Linked DNA regions of Homo sapiens: all the other regions are linked to region 3. Evidence: promoter capture Hi-C in 16 types of primary human blood cells and fetal thymus (Javierre and others, 2016). All regions are on one chromosome and are shown on one strand. The core of a region is centred on a gene start or on the middle of the fragment in contact, and the rest is flanking DNA. Distances in the headings are between cores, read along the strand shown.

Region 1 (4,180 bases), core at 195-2,694, 140 kb after region 3:
ATTTCTCAGTCCAGGGGAAAACAGGAAGAGGGAGGCAAAAGGCAGACTTTGTAGGGCAGAAGTAACACCTGAATCCTTTGATTAAGGTGAGGGGTGTATGAAGAAAATTATATGTCTCAATTAGCAGCCCTTCCATTTTACCTTCCCCTGTGCTATATGTGAAAGAGGAGGGAGGAAGAGTCTATTTCTCTGTCTCATGATGCTAAGACATTCTTCTGCTTAAGGCTTTGTGTGTGTGCATGCGTGTGTGCATGTTTGTGTGCGTGCGTGCGTGTGTGTATGAAGGGTCACAACCCTCTAGCTCCCATTTTTCCTTTTGTCATCTCTGTGACCTCTACTCAGTGACTAACACCACTCAGTGTGAGACGAGTAGATGAGAAAGAAGAAACATTCACCCTCCTCCCTATTGCCCCAAATAAGGAAGGTAGACTATGCTTTGAAATTGCTAAATACATCAGTAGATACTTGAGAATAAGACAGAAGAGAGACATAGCAGCAGCTTTTGATATATAGATACAGAGTACAAAGAGATACAGAGTAAGTAAGAGAAGACATCAAACATAGTACAGTCCAACAACAGGGGTTGGGGAGGGAGTTAGTATCAGAGACCACAGGTTTGCAGCATGCTGAGAAGAGGCCTCAGTCCCTCTTAGAAACTGGGAAAGAAAGAGAAAGAGGGTGTGAGGGCCCAGCTTGTAGCTCAGTCACAGAACAGGAACAGGTGGCATCTGCACACACTTTGGTTTACTGTCCTGTTCCTTTAATACCAACAAGCAGACCCCCCTACCACCGCCCCCCGTGACCCAGGCTTGCACCTCCACCCCTAGGTCTCCCCAACTCCTCTTCTGCATTCCTACTTCTCTGCTTCTCAGACTTTTCTGCCTGTGTGTGCCTGGTTTACTATTCTGGGAAACCCCTGGAGAGGGCTCAGCTTAGATGCAGCCCAGTAAGAGACTGGCCATGTTCTCTGTGCCACTTCTGGGCCCTAAAGCAACCTTGGTGAGAAACCCAGTGACACACAAGAACAAAGAAGGTTCCTGTGCTGCTAGAGGAGAGCACCTGGGGACAGAGGAGGAAAAAGAGGGGCTTTGCCACCTCCACTGAGCAAGATGGGAGGGGAGCGCTGACTGATTTCGTGGGGCGTTTCCTAAAGCTTACTGGTGGCATATACAGATGGGAAGAGGATGGGACACAGGTGCAGGCGTGAAGCAAACATCGCCTTAACTGGAGATGTCTTAGTTCCAAAAACACCTATCCATCCAAAATTATTTCAGGGTGGAGGAAGAGGTGGGGTTGAGATGGCCCCCTAGGGTCTCCTGATAGATCTGCAGTCTACCACCCCTGTGGTTCTAATCTACAGCGGCCAAGCTCACTTCTTTGGACATGTGACAGTGACCCCTAGTGGCAAAAAGACAGTACTGTGGTTACCACTGTAGCCTAACGGAAAGCAAAAGGGGGCACGGGAGGTCAACGTCCAGATTACATGGGGCAGCACAGGTGTAGCCCCCAACAGGGGAAAGCAGGAGTTGAGGGGTAACTACATAATTAAAGTTTTGAGGTGATAAAAAAAAAAAGAAGCAGCAGCAGGAAAACCAAAGAGGCTGTCAGCAAGAAGGGAAGCAACCTGAGGCTGGTCCGAGGAAGCAGCCTGACGCTACCTGAAAGTGCAGGTATGCAGCCGTGGGTGTGGGAGATTAGCTGGCTGCTGTCTCTTGGTGGAGAGGGAAAAGCTTGGCCTGGTCCTCAGCCTCATAGCCACACGGCAGGTCACTCCTGGAGGAAGAGACCCACCATGATCAGCTCCATAGAAATTAAAGTATTCCTGTCATCATGGTTACTCTGCTCTGAGAGTGTCCCTGTGAGATCACAAACGGCAGGGACTATTTGTGTTTTACAGGAATACAGGGAAACTCAAGGCCAGAGGGATGTAAATGACTTGTCCAATGTCACAAGGCTTCCAAAGGTAGGAGAGAAACCCAGTCGTCAGATGCCCACGTTGTTTTCGTCCAGACCTTATCACTGGAATAGGGAGAAGCCACAGATGGGATTGGAGGAGGGGAGATATTCTGCACTGAGGCAGGGGAATGACTGGATCTCCTGGACAACACAGTGATGAAAAGAATGAGTCTCACTCCCTCCCCCTTCCCCAAAGGCTCCAGGAACCTCCAAGTGGGGCACAAGGGAAATTTAATCATTTCTTCTGGTCCCACCCAGAGAACCCAGGGGTAGTGGGGACTGTTGTACCTATTGTCATTGATATCTGTGGCATTTCCTGAAGAGATCATCATTGAGAACACAGGATTAGAAGAAGAAAAAAGGAGATTGGGTGTTAGAAACAGTTTGCGCAAACCCTCTCCCATCTTAATCCCTTAGAGAAAAAGATAAGCTGTGACACTTTCTCCTTAGTTATCCCAAGCTACATCATTATTTTGTTCGAGAAAAAGTTTCTGCAGCCCCTCACCAAGGAGAGGAAAAGGGAACTGGAAGGCAAGGGCTGGGATTGGCGTGGTAATAGGAGGAATCCACTCCCAGGCAGCCTGAGACCTAAAGGGCTGGGCAGTGCTCAGGCTGTAGGTACAGGGTCACTTTTTTCTTCATATGTGTTATTATTATTATTTTAGAGATGGGGCTTTACTATGCTGCCCAGGCTGAGTGCAGTGGCTATTCACAGGTGTATTCACAGTGCACTTCAGCCTTAAGCTCCTGAGCTCAAGCAATCCTCCTATCTCAACCTCCCAAGTAGCTAGGACTACAGGTGCATGCCACCACACCTGGCTATATGTATTTTTTTTTTTATTTGAAGCCTTGGCACACCAGAAAGGTTCAGTCAGTGTTTTTTGTACACTAAGGTCACTTACTTTTATGCCTCTCAACTTGCCCTGAGGACCCCAAAGGTGGGATTACCCATCTTTTTCACTCACCATTGTCCATGTTGGCCTTCTGGTAGGAAGCCAAGGGGCCGCCAGAAGATGTGGCTCCACTGCTGGTACAGGAGTTTGCAAAGCTGGATGGAGCAGAGGAAAGAGGCAGCCTCTGACACCCACCCTCCACTAGTCTGAGGACCACTAATCCACACTCATCCTCAGTGATAGAGCTGCTCAGCCCTCCCCATCCCCAGAGAGCAGAGGAAAACAAACATGGCCACAGGCTGGGAGGGCAGACACCTACCTTCTAATCATAGGCATGAAGTTGAGAAAGGGTTTAGGAAAATAATTAAGCCACAACCAATAACTGCCCCCACCCTATGCCTTCTAGGGTCCAGGGAGCTTTGGGTGGGACTCCAACCCACACGTGTGGTCACTCACTACATATCTGAGGTGGAGCTGGGTGTGGCCTGCAGGTAGAGATTCTGGTAGTTCTGGAAGAGGCTGTTGGTGTAACTGATGCACTCAGGGCTCCGGGTGCCATAGGGGTTGGTGGGTGAGGATGCTGGGTAGTGGCCAGGCCGGACGGGTTTGGCTGCAATAAAGAAAGAAAACAACCATGAGGAGGCTATGACCCTGCATTTGCCCTGGTCCCTGAGGTCATTTAGCTGGGGTTGAACTGAGTTGCTTGTAACATAATCACTTTTTTACTTTTTGGGGGGAAGTGGGATGAGGCTAGGGGTAGGTAAGAAGCAATAATCTAGTTGCTTGGCAATTAGCAATTTGCTAAATTTGCTTCAGGAGATACTCCCACCTTGCCTGCTAACACCTACTCACCAATCTGGGCAGAATGGCCCCGTTTGCCCGAGCTCTTGTAGCGAACGGCCTCCTTGATGCGGTCCACCTCCTGCTGGTACCGGCGCTTGTCCTTCATGGCGCCCTCCTTGGCCTCCTTCAGTGCACCCTCCAGGGCCTTAACTCTCTCAGCCGTAGCCCTAAGTCGTTTTTCCAATTTAGGAAGCTCACAACGCAGATCTGCATTGTCACGTACCAGCTATGGGGCAAGCCAAAGGGAAGAAGTGGAAAGGAAGGCAAGTGACCCAAGACGGTCACCCAGAGGAGCGTAGGGGACAGGGGTGAGGAGAGAGAATAAAGAAAAATCAGGAGTCAGAGAAGATGGAGACCATGTCATTTCCTCAAAAGGCCTCATTGCCTTTATGTAATGGACTGTTCTGTCCAGCTCATTCCTTCTCCCAGAGCGAAGGGTGGGTGGTCAGGCATTTAAAAGTTATATAATTTTCTAGGCAGTAAAACCT
Region 2 (3,925 bases), core at 1,160-3,659, 220 kb after region 3:
AATTCTTAATGGAAATTTAAAACTTTTAAGAGTAATCTGCTCTCAGTATTTGTGGCTAAGGCAGAGGGGACAGAAGAGGCCTCCTGAAAACTAGGTTGAGAGAAAAGCTCACTTACCTTAGGCAGGTCCAGAAACAGGTGCTGGCTCGACTGCACCACAGGGCATGATCGGCAGACTTTACACTGAGGCTTCTGCGAAGGAAAATTCCAGAGGACAGATCAGGCCTGCAGGCCAGGGGAGGGGTCCAGGCAAGGGGAGGAGCAGAGAAGGATTAGCTCCTCAGTCTGCCATCTAGTTTAGCTTCAGGCTCACACTCCAATAACTCTACTATGTGGCCTACTCTAAACATGGAGACTCAAATCTTCTCAGTATAACTCCATTTGTTCTCAGAGTTTCAGATCTCTGTCCCATCACACCAGAGTAAAAAAAACATTCTCTGAACATAGGCTAGGTACAGAGCACTGCACTGTACTTGGCTGTGTGAGGGGAGGAAGGAGTGATGAAGTGAAGACATAGCCCCTCTCTTTGAGGAAGCTACAAGTCAGGGAGAGATGGCTTATATAAGAAACAAGTGTGGGCCGGGCGCGGTGGCTCACGCCTGTAATTCCAGCATTTTGGGAGGCCGAGGCAGGCGGATCATGAGGTCAAGAGATTGAGACCATCCTGGCCAACATAGTGAAACCCCGTATCTACTAAAAATACAAAAATTAGCTGGGCATGGTGGCGTGCACCTGTAGTCCCAGCTACTTGGGAGGCTGAGGCAGAATTGCTTGAACCTGAGAGGCAGAGGTTGCAGTGAGCCAAGATCATGCCACCGCACGCCAGGCTGCTGACAGAGCAGACTCTGTCTCAAAAAAAAAAAAAAGGAAAAAGACACAAATGTGGCTGAGCACCGTGGCTCACGCCTATAATCCCAACACTTTGGGAGGCTGAGGCAGGTGGAACACCTGAGGTCAGGAGTTCAAATCCAGCCTGGCCAGCATGGTGAAACCTCGTCTCTACTAAAAATACAAAATTAGCCGGGTTTGGTAGTGCGTGCCTGTAATCCCAGTTACTCAGGAGGCTGAGGCAGGAGAATCACTTGAACCTGGGTGGTGGAGATTGCACTGAGCTGAGATCGCGCCATTGCACTCCAGCCCGGGCAACAAGAGCAAAACTCCATCTCAAAAAAAAAAAAAAAAAGAAACAAGTGCAGATCTTTACAAAATAAATTTATTTGTGTGGCATAAACTGACTATATAAACATGGAAGGGTGATGGCTAATGGAGTGAACAGTTAGGTGGAGCTAATGAATGAAAACTTTCGAGTTTTTTGTTGTTGCTCTTTTTTCCATCTTTCAGAGAGGGCTTTGTAGTAGAGTTTTGTTGTTGTTGTTGTTGTTGTTGTTTTTGAGACGAAGTCTCACTCTGTTGCCCAGACTGGAGTGCAGTGGTGCAGTCTTGGCTCACTACAACCTCCACCTCCCGGGTTCAAGCGATTCTCCAGCCTCGGCCTCCTGAGTAGCTGGGATTATAGGCACGTGCCACCGCGCCCGGCTTATTTTTGTATTTTTAGTAGAGATGGAGTTTCACCATGTTGTTTAGGCTGGTCTCAAACTCCTGATCTCGTGATCTGCCCGCCTCAGCCTCCCAAAGTGCGCGGACTACAGGCGTGAGCCACCGTGCCTGGCTTGTTTTTTTTTTGTTGTTGTTGCTTTTTTTTTTTTTTTTTGAGACAAAATCTCGCTCTGTCGCCCAGGCTGGAGTGCAGTAGCGTAATCTCAGCTCACTGAAACCTCCACCTCCCAGGTTCAAGAGATTATCCTGCCTCAGCCTCCCTGGTAGCTGGGATTACAGGCACGCACCACCACACTCAGCTAATTTTTGTATTTTTAGTAGAGGCGGGGTTTCGCCATGTTGGTCAGACTGGTCTGAACTCCTGACCTCAGGTGATCCGGCCGCCTCAGCTTCCCAAAGTCCTGGGATTACAAGCGTGAGCCACCACACCTGGCCCCAAGTGAGTTTTGATCTGAGTTTTTGAAGGTGAGAAATTATAATTCCTCAGGACCTCTCTCCTGAACTCCATATGCCTAATATCCAACTGTCTACCTGACTTCTCTGCCTGGCTATCTAACAGGCATCTCAAGCTTAACAAACCCAAACAGTATGGCTGCATCCCACCTGAAAGCCTGTTCTCCTCACTCACGTTCACAGATGGTACTACCATCTACTCAGGCCAAAAACTTACAAGGCATCTTTTTCCTGACCATCCCAAATTCCAGTCTATCCAACTCCGTGGAGTTTACCTCCAAAAATATACCTCAAGTCTATTTTTTCTTTTCCATTTCTAGTGCTACTAACCTAGTGCAAGCCACCATTATCCCATTTCTGGGTTGTAGCCTTGTTGCCTCCAAATCCTTCTCCATACTTTTTTTTTTGGTGGAGGGGGAACAGTCTTGCTCTGTCACCCAGGCTGGAATGCAGTGGCAATCTTGGCTCACTGCAACCTCCGCTTCCCAGGTTCAAGAAATTCTTCTGCCTCAGCCTCCCAAGTAGCTGGGATTACAGGTGTGCGCCACCACGGCCTGGATAATTTTTGTGGTTTTTTTTTTTTTTTAGACAGAGTCTTACTTTGTAACCCAGGCTGGAATGCAGTGGCGCAATCTCAGCTCACTGCAACCTCTGCCTCCCAGGTTCAAGTGATTCTCAAGCTTCAGCCTCCCAAGAAGCGGGGATTACAGGGGTCCGCCACCACACCCAGCTAATTTTTGTATTTTTTTAGTAGAGACAGGGTTTCACCATGTTGGCCAGGCTGGTCTCAAACTCCTGACCTCAAGTGATCTGCCCACCTCAGCCTCCCAAAGTGCTGGGATTACAGGCGTGAGCCACCGCACCTAGCCATTTCTGTATTTTCAGTAGAGACAGGGTTGCCATGTTACAGGCCAGGCTGGTCTCAAACTCGTGGCTTCAAGTGATCCACCCAGCTTGGCCTCCCAAAGTGCTGGGATTATAGGTATGAGCCACCAATGCCCAGCCCCTTCAACATACTTTATTTCTTGCTTCCCTGCCATCCATTTTCCACAGAGCAGCTTGTCATTCACCAGAATAAAATCTAAATTCCCACAATGGCTTCACAGGCCCTGGTGATCTGGCCCCTGCCATCTCTCTCACCTCATCTCAGTCTACCCTCCTCCTCACTCACTGTGCTAGTGCTATACTGGCCTTGCCAATTCTGCCTTTTCAGCTCTTAGCTGCCTCATGGCCTTTGCATTTCCTAGTCCTTCCGCTTAGAACATTCTTAACCTCTTATTGCCTGGCTTGCTCCTAATTCTTTGGTTAAACTCTCAGTTCAAATGTTACTGCCTCTGAAAGGCCTTCCCTATCTACCTAAGTTAGATCTTCCCCCAGAAGTCACTCTCTGTCACATTTTCCTGGCAGTTTATTCTATATCATTTCCTTAGTTAGTGTTGGTCTCCTGACCATACTAAATAAAATCTGTCTTATTCATTGCCATACCCCCAGCACGCAGAATTGTAATTGGCCTATTCTAAGGATTCAAAAAATGTATGTTGAATAAATGAATGAAGAAATAAATTAACAAATGGCTAGAAGAGAAGATATTTAAAGAAGAGAGAAGGATCTAAACAAATGTAGATCAGGTGGTGTGATGCAAGACCAAAGGTTGGGAAATATAAACTCAACTTGTCTGTTTCTTAGCACAGTGCTCAGCACATAGTAAGTGCTCAGGGAGTATTTTTCAAATGAACTAAATGACGAGTTGCTGAGATGGGGCAGAAAGGGCCACTGGTTAAAGGTCTAGAATGCTAAAATAAAAATCCTAAATGGGACAGGAAGGGCGTCCCTTAAGAATAAGGACTGTCTCCTTCCGGGCTCCCATGGAGACCCTCCTCTTACCTTAAGCTCGACAGCATTGATGAGCTTGCCAC
Region 3 (3,831 bases), core at 104-2,603:
CCTTCCGCAGACCCCACGTGGGCCAGCTTGAACCTGGGCGCCCTCATCTGCATCGAGTGTTCTGGCATCCACCGCAACCTGGGCACACACCTGTCCCGCGTTCGCTCGCTGGACTTGGACGACTGGCCACGGGAGCTGACCCTGGTGCTGACGGCTATTGGCAACGACACGGCCAACCGCGTGTGGGAAAGCGACACGCGAGGCCGTGCCAAGCCCTCGCGGGACTCTTCGCGGTAAGCGTGAGGGAACAGAGCGGGGGGAGGGTTGCTGAGGGTGTGCGAACCTGAGACGGTCCCGTGGGTAGGGGCAGAAGTCCTGGCTGGGGGTCCCTAGAGCCTTTTCCGTTGATCCCTGGTCTTGCAGGGAGGAGCGCGAGTCGTGGATTCGCGCCAAGTACGAGCAGCTACTGTTCCTGGCGCCGCTGAGCACCTCGGAGGAGCCGCTGGGCCGCCAGCTGTGGGCCGCCGTGCAGGCCCAGGACGTGGCTACCGTTCTCCTGCTTTTGGCCCATGCGCGACACGGGCCGCTCGACACCAGCGTAGAGGACCCACAGCTGCGCTCCCCACTCCACCTGGCGGCCGAGCTCGCCCACGTCGTCATCACGCAACTGCTGCTGTGGGTACGTGAGCTGGGGGGAGGAAAGGGGGTCTTTGAGGCTTCATCTCGGAAAACGCCTGGCGCGGGAAAGCCCGAAATTCCCAGAGGGACCCCGGAAGTAGGCTTGGCCATGTGGGGGAGGCGGCGCCGGGTGTGGGCGCCCTGGGGACGCGCGGTCACGCGGCCGTTTCCGCCCTCTAGTACGGCGCGGACGTGGCGGCCCGTGACGCCCAGGGCCGCACGGCGCTGTTCTACGCCCGCCAGGCTGGAAGCCAGCTGTGCGCCGACATCCTTCTCCAGCACGGCTGCCCGGGTGAGGGCGGCAGCGCGGCCACCACGCCCAGCGCGGCCACCACGCCCAGCATCACCGCCACGCCCAGCCCCCGCCGCCGGAGCAGCGCCGCTAGCGTGGGCCGCGCCGACGCCCCGGTTGCGCTGGTATAGTTGCCCAGCGGGAGAGACACCCCCATCCCCACGCGGGCCGGGCACGACCACACCGGGCGGACCGCTGGACAGACGCACCCACTCACCTCTCCGATCCGCACCCCGCCCCACGGGAGCACTTCCTACCCCCACGAGGGCACAGCCCCCACGCCTTCCAGAAGACACAAACTCACCTCCCTCTCCCCAACGAGGCATGGAGACCCCAGCTCAACACGCCCCCTCTCCATTGTTTCCACACTCGGATTGCTCTGGGTCTACCCGCTCGGGGTTCGCGGAAGGGGAGGTCCCCAGCGGTACGGGCTCCTAGGCGCTTGGACATGCCCGCTTGTGCCCCCTAGGGGCGGAAAGAAGACCCGGTCCTGCCCGAGCTCAACAATCCCAGGGCGGGAGCCCATACCCAGGCTGGCTCCTGGGGCGACGCCACGCCAGAGGGAGGGTTTAGTACATGGGAGGGCTAGCCCCGGGACTTGGGGCCAATACGGAAACCCTACCCCTTCCATGCTCATCTCACTGCCCAGTGAAGGGGGCAAGGGCAGCGAGGGGCAGGACCCCTGCTGCTCATGGGGGTGGGGGTTCCCAACCCTTTCCGTGAAAGGGACCGTGAGTAGTGGAAACCAGGACGTCCCCTACACCTACCCATGGGTGGAAGCTAAAGAGTCCGGGGGGAACCAAGAGCCTGGGTCCCTCCCACTACTATCTTGGGAGGGAGAAGGGATGGAGCAGGAGCGGGCTAAGAGGGCTGCGGGGGCCTTGTAATTTATTGCTTTGTTCCCCAACATGGGGATGGGGGCGGGCAGGGGCGTGGGGAGGGCGTTTTGGGGTAGGGGAAGCCCAGGGTGGGCAGGGGGTGGGTTGGGGTGGGGGTGCTCTCGGGTTGTGTCTGTGACCGTGACTGCGTACCTGTGACTGTGCAGCGCCCGTGGTGATCTGGGGTAGGGGGCACCCCTACAGTGGGACCCCTCCCCCATTATTCTTTCTGTCCAGCCCCTCCCTCCCACTGGAGCAGCTCCAGAGCCATTCCTCACCCCCGTGACCTCTCCCAGCCAGGGCTGAGAGGATTCGAGGTGGCTGGGAGGGTTTCCAGGCCCCCTGCCCCTTCCCCACAAACTGGGTGATAGGGCGGACTTACCTGGCCCAGCCCTGCCTCCCTCAGCCAACCCAGCCCTTGGGCTGTCTGTGTCAGTGGTTTCCGGTCTTTTTTTTTTTTTTTTTTTCTGGCTAAAATAGTTTGCAAAGGACCAGGTAATTGGGGAGGGGAGAGAGGTGGGGGCAAGGGGGAAATGCCCCCCCATCTCCTTGGAGGCAGTGGTGTGAATCTTCTTCAACAGCAATTAAAGAGGAAGTGATTTTGTCTAGGGGGTGAGCTGCTGGTCTGTTCTTGGAGGCAGGTCAGGGCATGGCCTTGGTCAAGATGGGGTACTGGGGTTGGACAGGGACAGGCAGAGGTGCCTCCCACTGGGGCTGGTGGCAGGACAGTACCCATGGGCATGGAGGTGGTTCCATCATGTACAACAGTTCTGGGTTCATGTAGTGGAGGACGTGGGCAGGTTGGAGTCAGTGGGGACCCTGGGAACAGAGAAGGCACTGACTCTTAAGATGATGCCAGTCCTGGGAGAGTTGGGATATGGTACTTAGAGGAGAGGACAGGCCCATGGAGAGGGGTGGGAAGATGGGACAGCTTTGTTTAAGAGCAGGAACTTTGGAGACAGATCTGATTTTGAAACCTGCCCCTCCACTGCACAGCTAGGGGACCTTGGTGGCATCTGTTTATCTGTATTCTGAACAGTATCTGTTCAGAGGGCACCTGAAAGGCGCTCCAGCTCTGAGGAGGGCTGCCCCGAGCCAGCCTGCTCACCGTGAGCACTAGGTACCAGAGTAGAACATAGAGTAGGGGTTCCTCCCCTGGCCTCGTCAGGGGGTGTTCCAGAGGGAAGGGGTGGGAGACCTCCTGGGAAAGATTTCCCAGCTAGCTGCAGAGGTCCCTGGTGTCCACAAACTCAGTGTCAGCTGATGCAGGCATTTATCCACCTCCGTGCCATCAAAGGGACCACCAAGGCCACAGCGGCCTGAAGCCGGTGCTGCCTCCATGAGCTGCAGTGCCACTAGGCTCAGCACATAGCCAATCCTACCATTTCTCGAGGGCAGCTGAAAGTGTTTACTCAGGTAGAGGGGCTGGACAGGGTAGGGTTGGGTCAGCAGCCAGTGCAGGTTGGGCACAGCCATATGTTGTTATCTACCTTGAGGAGTTAGTTGGTAGCACCAGCATCTTTGGGTAGAATTGCTTCTGACCCTTGGTGCCCACCAGCCCCAAGAGGTTCAGCTGCAAGTGTGCCACTGAACTGAGGACACAGCACCAGACCTGAATCCAGTTCACATGGAGGCTGCGGCTCTACAGGGTCCTAGGCTGTGACCACCCAGCACAGCGGCGTGACCCAGGAAAGGTGGATTCAACAGTGCAGGTGCAGTGACAAGTACAGAGGCAGGTGTGTGGTCTGGGCAAAGCGACAAGAGGGGGGAGGTAGCAAAGAAGATTGGACTAGAGGACCTGGCCGTTCCCCCTTCACCTCCAAGACCCTGGACTCTCTTATTTCAGCTCCACTCCTTCCTCGTGGCCAAAGTTTGCTCCCTTCTTCAGAAGTTTGGGAGTGTGAGAGAATATGGGAAGGAAATAAGGACCCTGGAGAGAATGAAATTGCCTTCAAAGAGCAAGTGGGAAGTTCCTTTCATTTCCAGCCAGTGAAAAATGGTCAAGGTGTCAGCAAACCTCACAACAAATCCCAACACCAAGTA

What was found. Contacts are between HindIII fragments. The CHiCAGO score rates a contact against its expected background, and 5 or more counts as called.
Region 1: a contact is called between a fragment that was not itself captured here and the fragment with the promoter of AGAP2-AS1 in region 3, in 14 of 17 cell types (M1 macrophages, M2 macrophages, naive B cells and 11 more). The highest score is 19.3, in M1 macrophages.
Region 2: a fragment that was not itself captured here is called in contact with the fragment with the promoter of AGAP2-AS1 in region 3 in 4 of 17 cell types (M1 macrophages, M2 macrophages, M0 macrophages and 1 more); the score reaches 7.2 in M1 macrophages.

Annotation. Positions count from the first base shown.
Region 1 is chr12:57,580,694-57,584,873 of GRCh38, reverse strand. It overlaps KIF5A (kinesin family member 5A), which reads right to left. Exons shown (of 29, transcript NM_004984.4): 24 at 3,702-3,918; 25 at 3,306-3,459; 26 at 2,922-3,004; 27 at 2,245-2,272; 28 at 1,659-1,773; 29 at 1-656. The coding sequence ends at 1,695. Among named protein-coding and RNA genes, the nearest start is that of PIP4K2C, 8.4 kb to the left of the region's middle. The HindIII fragment of the contact is 577 bases long and covers 1,156-1,732 here.
Region 2 is chr12:57,500,491-57,504,415 of GRCh38, reverse strand. MARS1 (methionyl-tRNA synthetase 1) reads right to left here. Exons shown (of 21, transcript NM_004990.4): 10 at 3,894-3,925; 11 at 117-191. Among named protein-coding and RNA genes, the nearest start is that of MIR6758, 10 kb to the left of the region's middle. The HindIII fragment of the contact is 564 bases long and covers 2,128-2,691 here.
Region 3 is chr12:57,723,762-57,727,592 of GRCh38, reverse strand. AGAP2-AS1 (AGAP2 antisense RNA 1) reads right to left here and starts at 1,353. Exons shown (of 2, transcript NR_027032.1): 1 at 1,215-1,353; 2 at 1-628. AGAP2 (ArfGAP with GTPase domain, ankyrin repeat and PH domain 2) reads left to right here. Exons shown (of 19, transcript NM_001122772.3): 17 at 11-233; 18 at 364-619; 19 at 799-2,396. The coding sequence ends at 1,041. RefSeq lists enhancers at 1-135, 136-771. The HindIII fragment of the contact is 18,142 bases long and covers 1-3,831 here.